3 separate regions of the Homo sapiens genome follow, and all the other regions are linked to region 3. The links are contacts of gene promoters, found by promoter capture Hi-C in human tissues and cell types (Jung and others, 2019). All regions are on one chromosome and are shown on one strand. The core of a region is centred on a gene start or on the middle of the fragment in contact, and the rest is flanking DNA. Distances in the headings are between cores, read along the strand shown.

What was found. The method cuts DNA at HindIII sites, captures the fragments that hold promoters and counts their contacts. A contact is called where the count stands out against the background at its distance.
Region 1: a fragment that was not itself captured here is called in contact with the fragment with the promoter of OIT3 in region 3 in 1 of the 25 tissues and cell types used here (psoas muscle).
Region 2: a contact is called between a fragment that was not itself captured here and the fragment with the promoter of OIT3 in region 3, in 1 of the 25 tissues and cell types used here (aorta).

What each region holds. Positions count from the first base shown.
Region 1 is chr10:72,828,506-72,832,010 of GRCh38, forward strand. All of the region lies in intron 1 of MCU (mitochondrial calcium uniporter), which reads left to right. Among named protein-coding and RNA genes, the nearest start is that of OIT3, 63 kb to the right of the region's middle. The HindIII fragment of the contact is 6,518 bases long and covers 1-3,505 here.
Region 2 is chr10:72,936,823-72,940,027 of GRCh38, forward strand. The region is part of intron 3 of PLA2G12B (phospholipase A2 group XIIB); the gene reads right to left. Among named protein-coding and RNA genes, the nearest start is that of PLA2G12B, 16 kb to the right of the region's middle. The HindIII fragment of the contact is 4,211 bases long and covers 1-3,205 here.
Region 3 is chr10:72,892,055-72,895,801 of GRCh38, forward strand. OIT3 (oncoprotein induced transcript 3) reads left to right here and starts at 1,685. Exons shown (of 9, transcript NM_152635.3): 1 at 1,685-1,805. The coding sequence starts at 1,745. The HindIII fragment of the contact is 12,875 bases long and covers 1-3,747 here.

The sequences.
Region 1 (3,505 bases), core at 632-3,131, 63 kb before region 3:
ATTCCCCTTCCTTTAGCCTGATGTCTAACTGGCTGTGAATATTTGGGGGCTATTGACAGGTTATTTAGATTTGACAATCCTCCCAAGTTTCTGGAAGGAGTATACTGTTGAGTTTGCTCTTTTGAACTATGAAAGATGAATTAGGTATAGTTGAATAATTTATGATCATAGTAAGGAATTTAAAAGTAAATTTTGACTTGAATTTAATAATTTTCTGAGGACATAAAATATCTTTTTTATCATTCTAATTTTTATTGGCTTAAATCTTATGTTTTGGAGAAATAAAGTTACAGTGTTTTGTAACCTGACTCTAAATTGATAACACTAGGGATTAAGATCAAAGGTAAATGATTATAATACTGTGGCAGACGTTATACTTTCTTTTAGTTCCAAGTCCCTGATTTTCCTTAAAGTTCTCAAGTTACTTATTAAAGATATGGACTGGTACCAAAAGAATAAACTTGCTGTTTCTTTTCAAGGAACTATGGGAGCACCAAATCACCTTATTCATTTGGCACCAATATTTCTAGGGAGGCCGGGCGCCTTGGCTAATGCCTGTGATCCCAGCACTTTGGGAGGCCAGGGTGTGCAGATCACTTGAGTTCAGGAGTTCGAGACCAGCCAGGCCAACATGGTGAAACCCTGTCTCTACTAAAAAATATAAAAATTAGCCGGGTATGGTTGGTGCTCGCCTGTAGTCCCAGCTACTCGGGAGGCTGAGGCAGGAGAATTGCTTGAACCCAGGAGGCAGAGATTGCAGTGAGCCAAGATTGTGCTACTGCACTCCAGCCTGGGCAACAGAGAGAGACACTGTCTCAAAAAAAAAAAAAAAAAAAAGTTCCTAGAGATTTTCCCTTTCTCTGATAATTTTTGAAATACTTTCTAAATAATTAACTTTAATCTTTGTATCTGCCAAGATTTAACTTAATTAACTTTACTTAACTTTAATCTTGGTATCTGCCTATGAAATTTAAATATATAAATATCACATATCATTTGCCTGAATGTTTTTGCTGACTTTTCTTTCTTTTTTAACTTCTTGATATATTTTTCAAACTTTCAGCCTCAGTCAAATATTTATTAAAAGCTTCCAAGGAAAGTAAAGGGTAAAAAAAAAAAAACCTAAACAGTAAAGGAAAAAAACTTTTACAAACTTACTATTTTCTTGTGACATGTTAAAAATACAAAATTTAAACCATGAAATATTTTCAATTTAGGGGAATTATGGAAGAGTTTAGAATAGCAATGGTTCTTTGATCTTGAGCTCTTACAATTGCTTCCTTGGTTTTTGTTTTTTGTTTGTTGTTGCCATATTTCAAGGAAAAAAGGCAAGAGCAAAATAATTTTTGTTTTTGTTGTCTTTAGTAGATTCTAAGCTTCTGGAAAGTTTAAAGAAATAAAAGGACTTACATGTGTGTTTGTAAATACTTAATATGTAGTATTTTATAATTGCCAGTGTCATTATAGAAGTAGGCGGGAAGGACTTTGAGAAAGTGAGTTGTCCCAAAACTACAGAAACTGTTCTATAAGCAAGGATCAACAAACATTTTCTTAAAGGGCCAGATGGTAAATATTTGATACTTTGTGGGCCGTGTGGTCTCTGTTGCAGCTACTCAACTCTTGCAGCTATATACCAACCACTCAGTTTTGCTGTTGTGATGTGAAAGTAGTTGAGTGGGGTATAGAGAGTAAGTAAATGAATGAGCTTTGTTATGTTCTAATAAAATTTATTTACAAAAACAGGCAGCCAGCTTGCCAACCCATGTTCTATATCATCTAACAAATATTACTCATAACCAGCCATGTATTAATGTGGTTCACTGCCCCACAAAAACATCTTTTATTATTGTCAAGGATAATTTATGAACTCATAGAGGACAGAGGATTTCTGTTGTAAAACGGCCCAGTGTATGTATATTGAAGTGATATGATGGTTGGGATTTCCTTTTAAGAGATACGGAAGGGGAAAAACTGGGTGGCTGTAGATGAACTGAATTTGATAAAATGTTGATAAATATAGAAGCAGATGATAGGTTCATGAGATTTCTTCACACTGTGCTTCCTACTGTATGTGTCTGAAGATGTCAGTATTTAAAAGTTACTACATAAACAAATAATGGCCCAGTAAAGGCAGCAGTTTCTCCCTTCTCTTCTCACATCTTAGAATAGGAAGGAGAATAAGATAAAAATACAGACCCCATCTTCAGCACAACTAGGGAGATCTCTGCAATTCCAAAACACTAATTATATAAAGGAAGGTTGCCAGATCCAGTGAAGGTCAAGTAGAGGTGTGTGGGGAAACCCTGAGGAATGACACCTGTGGTCGCAGATCCCCAACAAAGCCAGCCAAACACAGTTCTCCAAAGGAAGCTGCCGACCTCAGACTTCTCCAAAGCAGTATTCAACACTGATTCTTTCCCTTCCAAATCCTCAAGGAAAGATTAATTTAGAAATTAACATGCCAAGCTGCAGGAAATTTAGCTCTCATGAGTCCTACTTCTACAGGAAGATGTGCAGCCAACCAAGAAATGAAAGGAGAAACTACAGCTAAAGTATTGGCAGTGAACATAGAGTCCATTGATCTATAGCATTAAGACTAAAACAAATGTGGAAATTAGATTTACAGAGAAGAATATGAATCGTTAAAACCTTGACAGTGCAGTAATGAAAGTCGGAAAGATGAGGAAATAAATGATGTTGTCATGTTTTATAACAACCTGTCAAAAGATGTCATTTGAAATCAGTAAATCTAGTAAAATCTTAAGATTGGGGTGGAGGGGAGTCTGTAGTTGATACATAGATACGTAGGTTAGAGCGAAAGGTAAATGCTAAGAGAAATAATCTAATAAACGAAACCGAATGGTAGAGGGAAAGAAAAAAGAAACATAGCTGTATTAATCATTGCTGACGATAGAGATAGGATTTTTATATGTTACAGTATATTTTATATAAAATTATAGTTATAACATAAACTATAAAATATAGGGTTGGTTTTTGTTTTGTTTTGTTTTGTTTTTTGCCTAACATGTATTTGATGAGGACTTGTTATTTGTCAAGCACTGTCAGTGACCAAAACAGATGAAAATTTTTGCTTCGTGGGTTGGAGGAGACAAAAATAAGTAAATAATTTGTTAAGAGGTGTTAAATGTATGGGGGGAAAATACAGCATAAAAGGATTCGGAGTACCCATTGATGAGATTGCTTTTTTTGAAGTGGATGAGTAGAGCAAATATTTGAAGGAACTGAGGGAGCCATGTAGTTATCTAGAGAAACAGTATTCTAAGCAAAGGTAATCGCTATTGCAAAGGCCCTGAAGCAAAAATGTAGCTGAGTTCAAGAAACAGGGAAGAGTCTAAAGGGGTAAAGCACAGTAATGTAGGAGGGAGAGTGGTAAGCGATGAAGTCAGAGATAATGGGATATCAGAGAATATTAGACTTTCAAAGGCCGTTAAAAGAACTTTGACTTTTACTCTGAAGTAACTACTAGAACAAAAAAGTAAGCCTT
Region 2 (3,205 bases), core at 390-2,889, 45 kb after region 3:
TAGACTAACCAAGAAAAAAAGAGAGGACTCAAATTACCAAATTAAGGAATGAGAGAGAAATGTCACTAACAATCTTATAGAAATAAAAAGGATTAGGGCCGGGCACGGTGGCTTACGCCTGTAATCCCAGCACTTTGGGAGGCCGAAGCAGGCAGATCACGAGGTCAGGAGACCTCCTGGCTAACAAGACCATCCTGGCTAACACGGTGAAACCTTGTCTCTACTAAAAATACAAAAAATTAGCCAGGCGTGGTGGCGGGCGCCTGTAGTCCCAGCTACTCAGGAGGCTGAGGCAGGAGAATGGCGTGAACCCGGAGGCAGAGCTTGCAGTGAGCCGAGATCACACCACTGCACTCCAGCCTGGGCGACAGAGCGAGACTCCATCTCAAAAAAATAAAAATAAAAAGGATTATAAGGGAATACTATGAATACCTACATGCCAAAAAATGTTGATAACTTGGATGGAATGGACAAATTCGTAGAAAGACGTGAACTGCTGAAACTGACTCAAGAAGAATAGAAAATATGAATAGATTACTAGTGTATATAAATACAATTACTAACCCAAGCTCGTGATTTAGTAATTAAAAACTTCCCCAAAGAAATCCAATTCTACTTGGCTTCACTGGGGAATTTTACCAAACATTTAAAGAATTAATATCAATCCTTTCTAAGCTTTTTAAAAAATTAGGAGAGAAGGGATCACTGCCCAATTCATTTTATGAGGTCAATATTACTCTCATACCAAAACCAAAGACATCACAAAAATAACAATCTATAGACTAGTATCTCTTATGAATATGGATGCAAAATCCTCAACAAAATAGTAGTAAACTGAATCCAGTAACATATAAAAAGGTTTACATCATGACTAAGTGGGATTTAGCCTAAGAATGCTAAATCATACTAAAATCAATTAATATGATACACTACATCAATAGGATATAGAACAAATACCACATGATCATCTCAATAGATGCAGAAAAAGCATTTGAAAACATCCAACACTTTTTCACGATAAAAACACTTGGCCAGGTGTGGTGGCTCACGCCTGTAATCCTAGCACTTTGGGAGGCTGAGGCAGGAGTTCCAGACCAGCCTGACAACATGGCGAAACCCCGTCTCTACTAAAAATACAAAAATTAGCTGGGCATGGTGGTGGGCACCTGTAATCCCAGCTACTCAGGAGGCCAAGGCAGGAGAATCGCTTGAACCCGGGGTGTGGAGGTTGCAGTGAGCCAAGATCACACCACTTCACTCCAGCCTGGGTGTAAGAGTGAAACTCCATCTCAGAAAAAAAAAAAAAAAGAAAGAAAGAAAGAAAGAAAAATTAAAAGAAAACATTCAACCAACTGGGAAAAGAGGAGAACTCCCACAACCTAATAAAGGTCGTCTAATGACAGTCATAGCTAACAATCATTCTCAATGGTGAAAGATGAAATGCTTTTACTCTAAGATCAGGAACAAGACAAAAATGTCCACTCGCAATACTTCTATTCAATGTTGTGTTGGAAGCTCTAGCCAGGGCAATTAGGCAAGAGAAAAAATTTAAAAAATCCAAATTGGAAAGGAAGATGATATGCAGATGGCATTATCTTATATACAAAAAAGCCTATGGAATCCATGAAAAAAAATATTAGAACTAAGGAGTTATTTCAGCTGGGTTGCAGGATATAAGATCAATGTACAAAAATCAAATGAATTTCTATACATTATTAATAAATAATCTGAAAATAAAATTTAAATACAATTACATTTCAATAACATTAAAAAGAATAAAATACTTAGGAATAAATTTAACAGAAGTCCAAGATTTGTACTGTGAAAACTATAAACACATTGTTGAAATAAATTAAAGAAGACCTAAATAAATGGAAAGGACATTGATATAAATATAATCTTGTTAAGATGGCAATATTCTCAAATTGATCTATAGATTCAACCATAACCCTCTCAAAATTCTAGCTGCCATTCCTTGGAGAAATTGACAAGCAGTTCCTAAAATTCATATGGAAATGTGAGGGATCCAGAATATCCAAAATAGTCTTGACAGAAAAGTACACAGTTTAAGAACACATCTTGATTTCAAAATTTACTGCATAACGACAGTAACAGGCAGCATGGTCCTGACATAGATCAGTGGAATAGAATTGCGCATCTAGAAATAAATCCTAACCTTTATGGTCAATTGATTTTTGACAATGTCCAGAATAGGCAGTTCTAGAGGTAGAAAGTAGATTCATGGTTTCCTCAAGCTGGGCAGGGGGAGTTTGGGGAGAGACCGTTAATGGCCCTGGGGCTCCTTTTCAGGGTGATGAATATGTTCTAAAATTGACTGTGGGATTGACTGCATAACTCTGTGAACATATTTAAAAGCATTTAAGTGGGTGAATTGTATCATGTGTGAATTGTAGCTTAATAAATCTGTTTCAACAACAACAAAAATGAATGATTAGGGCGTTTCACACAGGGGCAGAAAGGAATGGGCCATCAACCCAAGGAGTTTGATTCACCAGGTTGGAAACACTTTGTGTAGAATCTACGAAGGGACATTTCTGAGCCTACTGAGGCCCATAAGGAAAAATCAAATATTCTGTGATAAAAATGAGAAATAAGCGATCTTTGAAAATGCTTTTTGAGGATTCACCTCACAGAATGGAACCTGTGTTTTGATTCACCGGGTTGGAAACACTCTTTTTGTAGAATCTACAAAGGGACGTTTCTGAGCCCATTGAGGCCTATAAGAAAAACATCTAATATCCCGTGATAAAAACTAGAAACAAGCTATCTGAAAATGCTTTGTGATGTGTGGATTCATCTCACAGAAAGGAACCTGTGTTTTGATTCACCAGGTTGGAAACACTCTTTTTGTAGAATCTACGAAGGGACAGTTCTGAGCCCACTGAAGCAGGAGTCAAGAGACAGACCAGAAATGCCCAAGATAATGGTGGAGAGGAAGGCTAGGGCTGAATCAGAAAGGGCCATGTATGGCATACTGAGGAGTTTGGATTTCATCCGTAAGGAGGAGGAATCTATTGAATGATTTACACAGGGGGTTGAGATGATCACATTCATGTGGCATATCTGGTCCCAATGGTGACTATCAATTAGATGGGACACAGAGACTGGGTTAATTTGCAGTAACCAGGCAAGTGGGATATGAAAGAGATATTTGGGAGAATGAATCAACAGGACATTGCTTGCA
Region 3 (3,747 bases), core at 435-2,934:
TATGTAAATGAAATTGATAGAATGTTAGTAATTATTATAGCTGAGTGTTCATTATTGTTCTTTATACTTTTGTATATATATTTGAAATTTTTCATCATAAAAAGTAAAAAATGAAAGAGCAGGTCAACTAAAAAGGAAAAAATAGAAATAAGGGGGAAAAAACATCTTACCATCCTGGGAATTCTTGTTTACAGAACCAAAGGCTATCTGGTGAAAGTCCTTGACTCCAGCAATCAATCCTGGCAACAAGTCTGGGTTTATCTCATGCACACGTCCTCTGTTTCTCTGCAACACATATGAAGCCCTCAGATGGCTTCCTAGGCGCAGGAAGTTGTGGGGGATTGTTTTTTCTGTTTAAAGCACTGATACTTAGCAACACTATCCTGCAATGAGACAGCAGAGTCATCCATTGCTGCCATCAAACCACAACTTAATAAGTTAATGGTCAAATTGCCTGTGTCCCACTGATGTTAGTAATGAAGTAGCTAACTACAATTTTAGATCAATGGAAACCCCTTGCTTGACCATAAACCCTGTGCTTCTGGAGACCATGTGTACTTTTGTCATTGTCAAAAACCAGTGATTGCCCGAGCTCGGTGGCTCACACCTGTAATCCCAGCACTTTGGGAGGCCAAGGCAGGCGGATCACGAGGTCAGGAGATCGAGACCATCCTGGCTAACACAGTGAAACCCTGTCTCTACTAAAAATACAAAAAAATTAGCTGGGCGTGGTGGTGGGCGCCTATAGTCCCAGTTACTTGGGAGGCTGAGGCAGGAGAATGGCGTGAACCCGGGAGGCGAAGCTTGCAATGAGCCGAGATCACACCACTGCACTCCAGCCTGAGCGACAGAGTAAGACTCCGTCTGAAAAAAAAAATTGTGCTAAGAAGCACATTTTCTCTCCTTTGTCTAAAAGTGAAACTTCAGGAAATTTTGACATTTAATTTTCCAGAGTGTTAATTTAATGAGTAGTTTCTAATTTTAAGCTCCTACCCCATCTTAATGTGAGAATTAGTGAAATAAATAACATTAAACCATTTTTTAATTTTGGGAGTAAAGACAATAAAAATATGAGGTATTGCTGCTTGAATTAGTAAAAACACAATTTAAACCTTGTTTCTTTCAGAAGTTTTGAGGCCAAAGACCGTAATAAAACAAACTCAGGAGCTTATTTCAAGAGAATACTGTCCTTGTCTCATACCTGTCCTTACTACTTTGTTTTGTGTGCTATTATAAGCTCCTCAACCATCTGACCAAGACAGTTGCAGTGATTTGGCTTCATCCATTCTCGTTTAGTGTGCAGTGCTATGGCTGCAACATTGTGAAATCAATTCCTAGAAGTCACAAAGCAAGAATTTGACGTGAAGGGATGTCCCTCATTTAGAATTCCCTTCTGGATAAGATACTGGGGTTTCATTGCAGGGAATTCTTGAGAGAAAACAATAGGAGGATGAGGGATTGTGAGTTGTGTTTTTTTTTTTTTTTCCTAAAGAAAACTATTAATAAAGGAACCCTGTTGACAGTGTAAAGCAGTGCTTCTCTCTGGGGCCAAGGCCAGAGCTGTGGACACCTTATCCCACTCATCCTCATCCTCTTCCTCTGATAAAGCCCCTACCAGTGCTGATAAAGTCTTTCTCGTGAGAGCCTAGAGGCCTTAAAAAAAAAAGTGCTTGAAAGAGAAGGGGACAAAGGAACACCAGTATTAAGAGGATTTTCCAGTGTTTCTGGCAGTTGGTCCAGAAGGATGCCTCCATTCCTGCTTCTCACCTGCCTCTTCATCACAGGCACCTCCGTGTCACCCGTGGGTGAGTCTCATGTCAAGAACTTGGCACAATGCACTTTTTGTTGTGGCAATTTGCTATAATGTACAGATGATTAAGAACTAGATTCCAGTACCTTAAATGCTAGCTCTAGAATCTTGTAAGAAAAGTCCCTAATAATCCTTGAAAATAGATTTCCCGAGAATTTCTGTTACATGTTCCATTTAGCCTCTTGCCTGGACTCCAAAATTTCCATGGATCTGCCATATCCCACAGCTTTCACTAGCTAAAGAGTTCCTGGAGTATGTGTAAAAATAATTCTATCTTCTTTGTGTTCTAGGCACTTTATAGTTCCAACTTGAAGAGCCAAAAAAAAAAAAATTAAAGTTGAGCATAGAATTTTTCTTTAATGAAGGCAAGGGACTGAAAGCTCTGTTGCCATGGGGGGCACAGATCTGGATAAACCAAACTCATTAGTCTTTATGTCAGAAAATAAGACTTTTTGCACAGATCGAGTGAATCTTAAATTGTCTCCCTCCTCAGGCTTGGTGCAAAACTGGCCAGTCAGGCAAAGAAAAGTTTCAATTCCAGTTACTAACAGATTTCTCTCTTGCATCTTTTTCTAGTAGAATGTGAGTACTAACTGGAACAGAGGGTGGGGGTGAGATGGAGAGAACCATCCTTCTTGACACTTTTGAGTAGCTCAGTATCTAATTGACCCTGGCTTATTTCTTCATGGTTGCTCTAGTACCTGAAAGGATACACATTAAAAATAGGCTTGTGGCCAGGCACGGTGGCTCACACTTGTAATGCCAGCATTTGAGAGGCCAAGGCGGGTGGATCACCTGAGGTCAGGAGTTCAAGACCAGCCTGGCCAACATGGTGAAACTCCGTCTCTACTAAAAATACATACACACAAAAAAATTAGATGGTCATGGTGTTGCATGCCTGTAATTCCAGCTACTTGGGAGGCTGAGGCGGGAGAATCACTTGAACTCGGGATGTGGAGGTTGCAGTGAGCCGAGATCGAACCACTGCACTCCAGCCTGGGCAACAGAGGGAGACTCCATCTCAAAAAAATAAAAATAAAAATAAAAATGGTGATTTGAGACCCTAAGGAGACCTGACACCTAAAGGTAATGTGGGATCCTGGAACAGAAAGATATGGGTGGAAACTAAGGGAATCTGAATAAGTGTGGACTTGAGTTAATAATCAGGTATCAATAGTGGGTCATTAATGTGACAAAGGTACCATGCCAATGTGTGGTAAATGTATGGCTAAAGGTAACGTGTCATAACAAGGGAAACTGGGTGTGGGGTATGTGGGATCTCTTTGTCCTATCATCTCAATTATGCTGTAAATCCAAAACTATTCCAAAAAATATGCTTGAGCTACCTGTCATTAATCACCCCCTATCTGCTGCCAATAACTAACCCAAGGGTCGCTCAGAAAGTTGTCCTCCCGAAAATCTCCACTCCCCTTTCTTCCCACCCTTCTCCTTACCTATTCTCCCTCTAGTACCTCCTATATTCCCCATTCTTTCCATATACCATCGCCCTTCCCAGATCTTTTCCTCCAACCCCCAGCTCCTCAAGGATGATATTTGGCTCAATGCCAGAAGCATGATAAAGGGGGAACTTTGGGAACTAGAGCTGGTGTTTGCCCTGAGAGGACAGGGGAAGTGAGAGAAGAGGAAAAGAAGGGATGAGAAAGGGGGAAGCAAAGTGGGGTGATGAGGGAGGAGGATGGAAGAGGATGGAGCAGGAAAGGAGGGGCACTTCCCGACCAAGCTCAGGCACAGGGTCGAAAAGGGGCTGTGATTCAGGGGCGGCTGTCTGCCGGATAGGACCTGGAGGGTTGGAGGACTCAACCCTGGGGCGAAAGGGTGGGGACGCAGACATGGTTCCCTGCCCTTGGCCCTGCGTGGTCCTGGTGGAAGACAGCAGAGGGGCAGCTGGCAAGTGGGCATCTTAGCAAACCATTGAG